Regions from separate parts of the Homo sapiens genome. Here region 1 is linked to region 2. The links are contacts of gene promoters, found by promoter capture Hi-C in human tissues and cell types (Jung and others, 2019). All regions are on one chromosome and are shown on one strand. The core of a region is centred on a gene start or on the middle of the fragment in contact, and the rest is flanking DNA. Distances in the headings are between cores, read along the strand shown. Region 1 has its middle 180 kb from the start of PRDM2. Region 2 holds the start of LRRC38 (leucine rich repeat containing 38).

Evidence for each region. Contacts are between HindIII fragments. The study calls those that stand out against the background at their distance.
Region 1: a fragment that was not itself captured here is called in contact with the fragment with the promoter of LRRC38 in region 2 in 1 of the 25 tissues and cell types used here (lymphoblastoid cells).

Annotation. Positions count from the first base shown.
Region 1 is chr1:13,879,752-13,886,331 of GRCh38, forward strand. No RefSeq gene overlaps it. Among named protein-coding and RNA genes, the nearest start is that of PRDM2, 180 kb to the left of the region's middle. The HindIII fragment of the contact is 3,085 bases long and covers 2,227-5,311 here.
Region 2 is chr1:13,511,415-13,517,654 of GRCh38, forward strand. LRRC38 (leucine rich repeat containing 38) reads right to left here and starts at 2,589. Exons shown (of 2, transcript NM_001010847.2): 1 at 1,549-2,589. The coding sequence starts at 2,179. It overlaps LOC107984918 (a long non-coding RNA gene), which reads left to right and starts at 1,806. Exons shown (of 3, transcript XR_001737896.2): 1 at 1,806-1,927; 2 at 2,877-3,130; 3 at 4,756-4,850. The HindIII fragment of the contact is 3,544 bases long and covers 836-4,379 here.

The sequences.
Region 1 (6,580 bases), core at 2,519-5,018, 370 kb after region 2:
TAGCTGGGTGAGGTGGCAGGCGCCTGTAGTCCCAGCTACTCGGGAGGCTGAGGCAGGAGAATGGCGTGAACCTGGGAGGCAGAGCTTGTAGTGAGCCGAGATCGTGCCACCGTGCTCCAGCCTGGGCGACAGAGCGAGACTCCGTCTCAAAAAAAAAAAAAACAAAAAAAAACCTAAACTAAATGTAGTTATACATGTATTTTATGTTTGGCTTTTTCCTCCAACCTTGAGAATCATCCATGTTGCATGTATTTTGCTCACTCTTATTCCTGGGTGGGTTCCATTGTATGAATATACCCTTTCATTTTGTTCTGCTGTTGATGAAAACTTGGATTATTTGCATCTGGGGGCCACTATGAATAATGAATGCATCTGTGAGCATTCTGGTAATATGTTGGTGCACCTGTGAATGCATTCTTCCAGGTCCGTACCTGGGAGTAGAACTGCTAGGTCATAGAGCAGATAGATGCTCAACTTTAAAATATAATAGCAGACAGTTTTCCAAAGTGTTTGCAGGACTTGATGCTTACACCAATAGGGTCTGAGAGTTCCTATTGCTCCACAGCTTTTTCAACACTTGGAATTGTCCATCCAATATTGGCTATTGTGTTGGGTATGTGTTTGAATTTCATTGCGGTTTTAATTTGCTTTTCCCGATGAATAATGGGGGGTGAACATCTTTTCATATTGGCCATTTAAATACCCTCGTTTGTGAAATGCTTGTCCAAGTTTCCTGTCTACTTTTGTTTTTTTGTTTGTTTGTTTGTTTGTTTGTTTTTTAAGACAGGGTCTGGCTCTGTTGCTTAGGATGGAGTGCAGTGGTGCAATCTCGGCTCACTGCAACTTTAGCCTCCTGGGCTCAAGCCATCCTCCCACTTCAGCCTCCTGAGTAGCTGGGACCACAGGCGCGCACCAATATGCCTGGCAAATTTTTGTATTTTTTATAGAGACAGGGTTTCACCGTGTTGTGTAGGCTGGCCTCGAACTCCTGGACTCAAGCAATCCTCCTGCCTCGGCCTCCCAAAGTGCTAGGATTACAGGCGTGAGCCACTGCATCCATTCCTGTCTATGTTTTAACTGAGTTTTTTGCCTTATTGATTTGGGGGAGTTCTTTCTATAATGAGAATATGAATCTTTTCTTGGTTATAGGTGTTACACATTTCTTTCTTTCATCAAGAGACAATAATAAGAGAGTAGAAAGACTAGTCACAGAAATGGGAGAAGTTCTTAACTTTGATATCTAATTTATCAATCTTTTCCCTAATGGTTGGTGCTTTTTGTGTCTCGTTTAAGAAGTATTGCCCGCCCACCGTTACCAGAGCCATAGAGGTATTCTCTATCACTGTCAAGAAGTTTTGTTTTGCCTGGGTGTGGTGGCTCACACCCGTAATCCCGGCACTTTGGGAGGCTGAGGTGGGTGGATCACTTGAGGTCAGGAGTTCAAGACCAGCCTGGCCAACACAGTGAAACCCCGTCTCTACTAAAAATACAAAATTAGTTGGGCGTGGTGGCGGGCGACTGTAATCCCAGCTACTCGGGAGGCTGAGGCAGGAGAATCACTTGAACCCAGGAGGCGGAGTTTGCAGTGAGCCGAGATCGCACCACTGCACTCCAAGCCTGGGTGACAGAGCAAGACTCCGTCTGGGGAAAAAAAAAAAAGTTTTGTTTTGATTTCACATTGAAATCTACAATCTGCATGTAACTCACTTCCATCTATGGTGTAAAGTGGAGGTCAACTTTCACTTTTTTTCTCCATATGAATTTCCACTTGATTGACCGCCATTAAGCATCTCCGCTGCCCTGCAGTGATGGTGTTGTCCTAATGCAATAGTGAGTCAGCTTCTGGACACTTTATTCTCATTATTGATCTCTCTGTGTATTCTTAGCCCAATACCATGCTCTCCTAACTACTGAAGCTTAATTATCTGTCTGGAGCATCTGGTGGAACAAGTCTTCATTTCTGGTGGCCTTCACCAAGAGCTTTTGGCCCTTTGCCTTTCCAGTTAAATTCTAGAATCATCTTGTCAATGTTTACAGAAAATCTGCTTAAATTTTGATCTGATTAAATGTGTAGATTAATTTGGGAGAATTGAAGTTTTTACAACATTGAGTCATCAAACTATGACTCAGTGGTGCATGTCTTCATTTGTTTAGGTTCCTTTCCTTTCTGCCCGTCTCATAGATTTCTGTAGAGTGGTCTTAAGGGCTTTTTGTTAGATTTATTCCTTGTTATTTGATATATTTTGATGTTAATGTTATAGTTTCTTAAAGTTTATTTTGTTCCACATCCAGTAATATAATTTACATTTTAACGTGTACCTTATGCTTATGTAGCAACATTGCTAAGTTTATTCTAATAATTTATCTGTATACTTTTCTTTTGGGATTTTCTACCACAATCATGCCAACTGCAAATAGTGACAATTCTATTTTTCTATTTCAAACCTCAAATCTTGTCTCTTTTACTTCCAGTATAATGTTGTATAGAAATGATGATAGTGGCCATTCTTGTCTCATTCCTCATCTTAAGAGGAAGCTTTCAATATTTCATGAATGTTGTGAAGGATGTTTTCTGTAGGCTTTTTAATACAAATTATTTATCAGATTAAAAAAATTCTCTTTATTCTTATGACACTTTTTGAGATGTGAATTAAGGTTTGGCAAAGGGACAATTTTTGTAATGTTCTCTGTGTTTTTTTTTTTTTTCTGAAGAGAATGTATACGCTGTACTTGTCAGGCACAACTGATCCATTATATATGTCTGTTAGTCAATATGTTAATTGTGTTCAATTTTTCTGTATTGCTTGCTTTTTGTTTAGTTTTTCACTTCTGGGTTTAGTTTTTTGCAGTTTGTCAATTTTTTGCTCATGTTTGGAGGCTTGTTAAATTGATCATTTTGTTATTATGAAGGATGTTTTTGATTGCTAGAACTGGGTTTTTTTTTTTTTAATTTTTAAGTCTACTTTGTCTGATAGCAACATAGTATACTAGCTTTCTTTACAATTCTTTTTTCTCTCCTTTCCTGATATCTTTTGGATTGATTATTTTTATACTCATTTTCCCTTCCTATTAGTATGGTGATTTTGTACGCTTTTATAAACTTTCAGTGGTTATACAAGAGATTGTAGTATGTATCCTCGACTTATTAATGTCTAATATAAATTAATCCTTCTATTTTTCCCTGGACAATGCAAGGACCTTAGAACATTTTAATTCCATTGTTCTTCTTTCAACTTCTAAGCTATTTTTGCTCTGTATTTTATTTCTATATATACTTTAAATCCTACAGTGTATCACTGACCTGTTAATATAAGATAAATTAATGTTAACCATTAGTAATTATGAATTCATAGTCAACATTAAGTTATATTTAATTTAGACTTAGCCACAATTAACCTTTTCACAGCTCTTTGTTCGTTTCCATGGCTCTGAGCTTCCACTTGGCTTCATTTTTCTCCTCCTTGAAGAAACTCCCTTTAGTGTCTTCTTGATGTGTCTGCTGGTATTAAATTTTCCTAGATTTCTTTGGTCTGAAAATTTCTTTATTTCACCTACATTATTGAAGGATATTTTCAATGCATATAGAGTTCCACATGGCAATTATTCTCTTTGAGCACTTTGAAGGTCTCATTCACTGACTTCTGGTTTCCCTAGTTGGCGTTGAAGTCAGATGTGGGTCTCTGTTGTTGTACTGAAAGTTCTTTGTTTTCTCCTCATCCTGACTTCTACAGCTGCTTTTAAGACTTTCTCTGTTATTGGTTTTCAGCTTATTACTATGATAAGCCTAGGTATGATTTTCTTTTTATTTATCCTATTTAGGGTTCATTGAGCTTTTTAAGTGTTAATTTACACAGTTGCAAAGCTGTATTGATCAAGGTTCTTCAGAAAAACAGCGCCAATCGGATATATATAGACATAGAAGAGGAGATTGATTATGGGTCTTGGTTTGCATGATTACAGAAGCCGAGTAGCCCCATGATCTGCTGTCTGCAAGCTGAAGACCCAGGAAAGCTGGCGGTGTCATTCCGTCTGAGTCCAAAGGCCTGAGGACAAGGGGAGCTAATGTTATATCCCAGTCCAAGGTTGAAGGCCTGAGAACTGCGGTGGGGGCTGCTAGTGTAAGTCCTGGAGTCTGAAGGCCCAAGAACCAGGAGCCCCAGTCTCCAAGAGAAGGCAAAGATGAATGCCCCAGCTCCTCAAGAAGACACAGAGAGAGGGAGTTTACTTTCCTCTCTCTTTTTTTTGTTCTATTCAGGCCTCAACATATTGGATGATGTTCACCCAACATAGGTGAGGGTGGACCTTCTTTACTCAGTTGCTGATGCAGACACTGACCTCTTCCAGAACCACCCTCACCAACACACCCAGAAGTAACCAGCTATCTGAGTATCCTTTAACCCCTTCAAAAGCTTCTTGCAAGAGGAGATTTGATCTGACTCCTGAAAGGGGTTGAGTTTTGGGTCCTTTCTTTTTTGAAGGGCACGGATACTGCCTAGAGTCTGTCCCATTGCCCCTTCATCCTTGCAGATGCTCTGGATGGAGCATGTTTTAAGGGTCAGCTGAGTTTGCAGAAGCATCATATCCTGTCACCCATGTGCCAGGTTCACAATGCGTGTTCACTCCTGACGTCCCTGCCAACCCTGCCAGAAAGGGACCTGCTGAATTGTATAGTCTTAACCCTGTCATGTTGACACATACAATTCACCATCCGAGGTATTAACAGTTTCTCCTGATATTGCTTCTACTCCTTTTCTCCTACTTCTTTTCTTCATCCTCTCTTTCTTATTTGTCCTCCCTTTCTGGGATGACAGTTAAACCCATGTCAGACCTTTTAACTGAATCCCTATGTCTCGTCCTTTCCTCTATCTTTCCTATCCTGTTGTCTGTGCTTCACTCTGACTTTCTTCTGACTGATCTACCATTTCACTAATTCTTTCCACCTGTGTCTAATATCGATTTGGTAAATTTTTATAGTTTTTTCCCCCAAATCCTGTACCTTGCTCCATTTCCCTAACCATGTTAAGCAAACTTATTGTGGACTGTGTCTGATATCTGGATTGCTAGTGGTCCTTCCTTCCTGCCTTCCCTCCCTTTCTTCCTTCTCCTTCCTTCCTTCCTTCATTCCATCCTTTCTTCCTTCCTTCTTTCCTTCCTCCCTCCCTCCCTCCCTGCCTCCCTCCCTCCCTTCCTTCTTCTTCTTTTTCTTTTCTTGATAGGGTCTTGCTCTGTTGCCCAGGCTTGGAGTGCAGTGGTGTGATCTTGGCTCCCTACAATCTCTGCCTCTCAGGCTCAAGCTATCCTCCCACCTCAGCCTCCCCAGTAGCTGGGACTACAGGTGTGCACCACCATGTCCAGCTAATTTTTGTATTTTTTGTAGAGACAGTATCTCACCTTATTGCCCAGGCTGGTGTTGAACTCCTGAGCTCCAGCAATCCGCCCACCTCAGCCTCCCAAGGTGTTGGGATTACAAGCGTGAGCCACTGTGCCTGGCCTGGTGGTTTTCTTTTTGTTGTCTGTTTCTCTTGCCTTTTGACCATGTTGTCTTTGTCCAACTAATTGTTTTTCTTAAACTGTAGGAAAACTGAAAGAATAGTATAGTAAACATTTCTCCCACAAGTCATTTGAGAGTCTGCTGTAGACATGATGCTCCATCATTCCCAAATGTTTTAGTGTGTGTTTCCTACACATCAAGGACATTCTCCTACTAACCACAGCACAACTATGAAATTCAAGGAATTAACATTGATCCATCACTACTCTAATTTGCAAGCTCCATTCAAGTTTTATTGGAACAATTCAGGATCACAGGCTGCGTTTAGTCCGGTTGCCTCTTTACTTGCTTTCTATTTGGAACAGTTCCTCAGATTTCCCTTAACTTTTATGAACTCGCCACTTTAAAAAATTATAGGACAGTTATTTTGTAGGCTGTTCTTCAGTGTGGGTTTATAAAACGTTTTCCTGATTCGTTGCGAGTAATAGATTGTTGTCAGGAATACTGCAGAAGTGATGCTGAGTTTTCTTATTGCATCATTTTAGGTGGTACATGGTTTTGATTTATCCTATGACTAATGATGTTAACTTTGTTAACTAACTTTGATTAAGATAGTGTCTTCCAGGTTTGCCCACTGTAAAGTCACTCCTTTTACTTTTTGTGATTAATAAAGATTTTATGGGGACAGAGTTTGAAGCTGTAAGTTTACTGTTTCTCATCAAGCTTTCACCCACTAGATTTAGCATTCGTTGACATTTCCTGCCTGAATTATAACTATGAGAGGCTGTCAAATGGCAATTTTCCAAGTCCATCATTTTGTGCATCTATTGGTTGGCATTTGACTATAAAGAAGAACTTTTTCTTCTATCTCTCTATGCATTTATTTGTGGATATATTTATGTATCCATCCATCCATCCATCCATCCATCCATCCATCTATCCATATGGACATATAGATTTCTATTCAATGAGTTCTAATTCATTATCATCACTTTTATATAAAAATTATTCTTGATTTGGCCAGTGAGGGTTTCTTCAAGCTGGCTACTGTGTGTTTTTGGAATGTCTCCATCCATCTTGGAGAAGTTC
Region 2 (6,240 bases), core at 1,339-3,838:
AGAATTCTAGAGATGAGGAAACTGAGGCCCAAATGGGACAAGTGGCCTGTTCAAGGTCACAGTCACCATGGCAGAACTGAGACAAACCCACAGCTCCTGACTTCATAAAACCTTGCCTTCACCTGGAAGACAACTGGAGCCAATAAACCAACCCAACCAACAACAGGGGTGAATGGTGCCAACCCCACTGAAAAGGAAAGGCAGAAGCAAGCAGAACCGAGGTGTACCCCATCCCACCATGAGCTTTTCATCCGGTCACTCCTGTCTCCAGGACCGAGTCTACTGGTGGGCAGGGTCTGGGAAACCAGACAAGTGGATGAGGACAAAGTTTAAAGGTGGGGACTCTGCACCCTGCAGGCCAGATCGTTTTAGGAATTTCAGCCAGCCTGGGCTGAAAGTGATGGCTCAGGGGCCTGCATTTGCTGAAGAGTGAGCACCCCGAAGCATGGGGTGTGTTTGATGACAGTTGGGAATGAAGATATGAATGCAGGAGTTCAGCACACAGATGAACAGCATCCTTGATTTCTCCGTAAATGGAAAAAAAAATATTCTGAAGCTAAATCTGCATGTATGTCACCTTTGATGATGTGCGCCTTGCAGCTGTGGTCCCAATTCTGCTGAAATCTTGGGAGCAAGGCAGGAGGCAGAGTTCAGCTCTGAGAGGTCACTGCGGGCACTGGTGCTCACAGGGTCACAAGTGGGAGGCTGGAATCCACTTGGGGGAAGGACACCCACCTGCCACCTGCCTCCTCACTCTGGGTGCTCATCCCTGTGGATGCTGGGGTCCCCTCCTTCTCAGCTCCACCCGTGCTCCCTTCCTGCGGGCCTTAATGGAGCCCCTTAACTCCCTCCGCCCTGGTGTTCCCATCTGCCAAGTGAGTTTTTATGCCCACGCCGCCATTGGAAGCGTGCACCAGGAAAGCAAAGGGGGCACCAGCCCTCTACATTTTGGTTCAGCTTTTTCACATCTGGCTGAAAAGCCACAGAGAACTACAAATCATTACTGCATCATTGGCTCTTAATGGGCTGCCATTATTCCACATCAGAAATCTTCCTCACCCATATTAGACAGAAGAGCAAACTGGAGCTGAGAAGCTGAGAGGCCAGGTTAGGCTCGGGAAGCTGCTGGAGAGCCCTTGGAACTGGCTGACTCCCCGTGCACGGTACTGAGAATACGGCCGTTTCCCATAGAGTAGGCTGCATTCCGCTTACCAGGGACGCATAAGTAATCCACACCCGCCAGTCCTAGGACCCAAAGCCCAGGGAGATGATCCTGGGCATCCCGAGAAGGGGAAGGTCCCTAACTTGGTAAAGTGAGTTACTGGAGAAACAGGGGAAGAAGTACAGCCTCAGGGTTCAGAAACTCCAAAGAATTCCAGATGCGTCCCTCTCCACCCACTTCCCCAGCAGAGACCCAGGAAAAGTTCAGGATCCCCCAAGCCTCCTCTTCCAAACTCAACCCACGGCTCCTCCCACCCAGACTGGGGTCTGGGGTGGCCTCTCCCTGCCCCCCTCCCTCCCTCCCCCAGCCTAGCCGGCTCGGCTCACCTTTGGGCAGTTTGGATGCGTTCTCCTGGATCCAGGAGAAGAGGTGGGCGAAGTCACAGTCGCACAGCCAGGGGTTCCCGTCCAGACGCAGGGAGCGCAGCGCGGGCAGCGCGGCCAGGGCGGCCACGCTGAGGCTGCGCAGGTTGTTGTCGTTGAGCTCCAGCACCTGCAGCGACTCCAGGGTCTCGAAGGCGTCCTCGTGCACGCCCACCAGGTTGTTGTTAGCCAGGCTAAGCTTCACCAGCCTCCCGGCCGAGCGGAAGGCGCCGGCGCCCAGCTGGGTCAAGTTGTTGTAGCTGAGGTCGAGGAACACGAGCTTGGCCGAGCCGCTGAACGTGCCCTCCTCCAGCGAGCGCAGCGAGTTGTTCCTGAAGTCCAGGTAGACCAGGTCGCCGTAGAAGATGAAGAAGTCCTCGGGGATCCGCTGGATGCGGTTGCCGGCCACCAGCAGCTTGCGCACGTCCAGGGGGAAAGGGTCTGGCACGCTGGGCAGCCCGCGGTCGCGGCAGTCCACGGTGTGCGGGTCGGTGCAGGCGCAGCCCGCGGGGCACGCGTGCCCGGGCGCGAGCAGCAGCAGAAGGCTGCAGAGCCCGAGCGCCGCGGCGGCGCAGGCTGGGGCTCGGGGGCGCATGGCCGGGGGGCCCGCGCCGGCCGCGGCGAGAAGGAAGCGGCTCTCGGAGCGAGCCCTGGCGCGGGACGGCGCGGTGAGGCACTGGCTGCCGGGCGCGGGGAGCCAGAGGGCGGCCCGGGCGGGGAGGGCGTGCGCCCGGGCGTGCGGGGGCGATGGAGCGCGGCGCGGACGGACTGGGGAGCCGGGACAGCAGGGATGGAGAGGGGAGGGGCGGGGAGGGAGGGGCGAGGGACTCACCAAAGGGTTTACCCGGACAGGAAATTAACCCGCTAGAAAAATCTCTTGGGAGAGGCGGGAGCGGCAGGGGTGGCCGAGTGGCCGTCGCCAAAACGCGGCCCCACCCTGGCAGCTGATTTCCGAGATCTGGCAGTAAGACGCCGCGCGCACCGGGCGGGCTGCACTCGACGTCTAAGTTCAGCTACCAAGCCCAGGAGCGGTTTCCCTAAGGCGTGTCCCGGGCGTGCGCCCTGCCCCCTCGCGCCCGCCTGGTGCCAAAGCACGCTCCCTGCACGCCACCCTATGTCGCCAAAGGGAGTGGGACCTGGGTCACTCTGACTCTGCTCCGGGGGCAATCCCTGCAGGTTCTCGGGTGCCGCGCCAGGGTCTGCTGGTCTGAATTTGGGCGGGGTTCCAAGGGGAGAGAGTGAGTGACTGGTCTTCCCTCTTCCCTCCCCCACCTGCACTTGAACCATCTTAGGCTGGAGGGTGAGCGAGGCAAGTGGCTGCCAGGGCCCCCGCTGTGGCCTGCAGGGCCAGTCAGCACTTTCCATGCCGGCCCCGAACTTCTGGATGGAACTGGCATCCATGCAAGGATCAGCTGCTGGTCTGAGAGGTCCAGCTGCTGAGGCTCTGAGGCCTGGAGTCACCAGGCCTGGCTTCCAAGCTGTGTGGCCTCAGACCAGTACCTCTGCCTCTGTGGACCTGGTAGCTCCATTTGTGAAATGGAAAAAGGTAATATATATCTCATCAGCTTTGGGGGAGGACCAAGAAGTCAAGAACAAAGTTCAAAAATTATCTTTTCCTCTCTCCCCCTCAAAACCCCACCTTGGATAGCCTAGGGAGGCAGTCAGGAACGTGCCAAGGCTGAGATGAAAGGACAGTGAGGAAATGCTGATGTCAGCCTCTGACACTGGCAGGAAAATTCCCTCTTCACCACCCCGATGCCAAACTCCTTTCTTTCTGTCCCACCTCATTCTAGAAACTTCTATATGGGGAGGGGTCCCCACAGAGCTACCAAGAGATTGTCCCGCTGTTGGCTATTTTGGTCCAAATGCCCTAGAATTGACAGACTCCCACTAGACCAAAATAACCCAGGGAACAGCTGTTGGGCAGCAGGCTCCCAGAGACCCTTCCCTGGCCCCTGGCCATGCTGGGGATTGGTGGAGCCTCGGATTCTGAAGCCATAAAGCTAAGCCCTCGGCCTTCTTCCAAAGGTACAGGCCGACTTGATGCCTCTGAGCCATGGGATGAAAAAACTGATCCCCTGGGATGGAGCCAAGGGCTCAACAGATGAGCATATTTGCAGGAGCCCTGGGGAAGAGGCGGGGGAGACCCAGGGGGAAGCTTTGAGGCACCTGGAGTCCTGCAGCTTTTCCCCTACTTACATTCCAGGCCACTAAGCCAGACCTCCCTCAGTTCTCCGTCTCTGTCTCCACTCTCCCAGGGTGCCCAATTTGCCATTGCCATCCCCAACTTCAAGGGCTCAGCTTCCCCACCCCAGTCTCATGCTCTTGAAGAGGCAGGTGTCGGGAGGAGTGGTCTGAATGCTCCCAGAGTGGATGAAAATGCTTCTGCCTACATAAATGATGTATAAATTATTGAAGAGTCACACAAAGTGCAGGCAGGTGGCAGAATAAACACATCTCCCACCCTTGCAACTCTGCAAAAGCAGCCTGAACCGAACTGTTGCACTCTGCCAATCTCAGGCTTGGTTCTGCCTGCTCCCTCCTGTACTGAGGGGAACCTATTACTGGTTTGAGCCCTTAGCATCATGGTTTCATGACACCCGCATTTGGTTGGGCTGCCATCTTGCACGTGCATGCCCGCGTGTCTGTATGTCTGGGTGTGTACACAAGCCCTCCCTGCCAAGTGGTCTGGTTGGCTGGAGCACTGACCTATATGAATCAAGACCCTGGGTCTGGTCCTGGCCCCACCACTAGCCACAGAATCTTTCACAAGCCACTTGATCTCTCTGGGGACTTCTTAGCCTGGGTCCCCAGATACTATGAAGAGGAGGTCTTTTCAAAATTTAAAAAAGTCTGGTGAAAATTAGGCCTTTATCTTTGAGGAGGTCTCCCGGATTAAATACTGCAATTCTTGCCAGTGAACTTAATGGTAGCACTAGTCCTTTTGTGCAGAACCGGCATTCATAGGTGACTTTAAGAAAAACAGAGATGAATTTCTACTGAATAAATGCAAGTATTTAGTTGACAAGGACTTGCAAAACAGGGGAATGCATGGTACTAAAATATTAAGAGGGGCTCTTGGTAACAAACCTATTGAGAAATACCACTCCTAGCCTTGATTTCCTCATCCTGAAACTAATGAAAAAATACCTTTCTTCTTCCTTTCCACAGACAACGTGAGGGCCGCATGGGGAAGTATTTGTATGGGAACATGATTTGAAAGGTCTTTGGAGAAATATTGCCAATAAAAGTGGCCACAAATCTTGCGATGGCAGGAACAATTTGTTTCCTCGAGTGTCCCCCAAAGTTCCTTGGATCCAAATGTAAGCATTCTTTTCATTAATATCAGCAGAACTAGACATGGTTGGGCTTTGTAGGGAGCAGGGAGGTATCTCAGATTCCAGAGCTCCCATCCCTTGGGGGAAATACAAGCTTTGCCACCTCTAAATTTTTCCCCCAACAAATAAAACAGAGCCATGACCTCAGCAAGGTCACAATATGAGTCAGTGATAGGCGCTAGAAATAGAACACAGGCATTCTGAGTCCCCACCTGCACCATTCACCAATTCACCCACTCACCCCCTCTCCAGGAAGGGAATCTCTTACCCTTGAGGGCAAACATTGCAGGTAACAAACATTGCAGGTAACAGGGAGGAACGTTGAGAGATTCCACTTGTCAGCTCTGTCTCCGTATGTATTCTCAGAGTCTGCACACTTTGTAATTCCTATTCAAAAGGCTCAAAGCAGGAGCGTGGCAAATACCCAAGGTATCCCTATGATTTAAACACCTGACGTCATGCCTTCCCCATCCCCCACCCCCAGCGGAATCCTCACTCCTCCCTGTGTTCTCCGAACTACAGAGCACGTCATGTCTCACTCTCCATCCCTGTCCAATTTCCCATGAGGTTGGGCCTTGGGAAGCTATGTGCAAGGCGGTCCCCAGGAAACCCACCACGCGATGCCAGGTTGCTGTAAGCAAGAAAAATTCAATAAGAAGAATATCCCCCTTTGTTCACCAGACTGACATCTAAATTAGCCAAAATCCTATGCCTTAAGTCGTAAACAAGATGCTGCCAGTATTTTATGTGCAGAAGTTGAATTTAGGTGCAAATGCTAGGTTTGAATAAGAGTATGGCTGGTGTCTGGTGATGTCATTTGCGTTACTGGCGTATTTCACCTCTGATCAGCACCTGACTGGCCTGGCCAGGGAGCGTGAGGACATCTCATGGGCCCCAGGAAAGGAGACACTCTCTAGCCTTTTACTTGGGGCAGCCTGCCTCGATGGAACAGGCTCCCTGCTCCACAGACACAATTGCGACTTTGTCACCAGCCCGTTAACTGGCTGCAACAGCAGCTCCATGTTCCCGTCCCACGGCCGCTGCCCTTTTTAGCTACCACCGCTAGGGAGCACCACCTGCGGCTCGCACTGCTCAAAACTGAGCGCTTCTCTCAACGCAGTTTACTCTCTGGAGCAAGGCTGGACCCCACGTTTTAGAAGAAAAACTCCCGCCCCTAGTTTTGCCTCTGGAAGCAGGAAATGAATCTTTCACCAGCCTAAATGGGAGCCAGGGTGGTGGTAGCCGTTGGGAATGTGGGTTTGAAGTTAAACAGATCTTGGGCAAGTTGTTTAACTTTTCTAAGCCTCAGTTTTCCCAT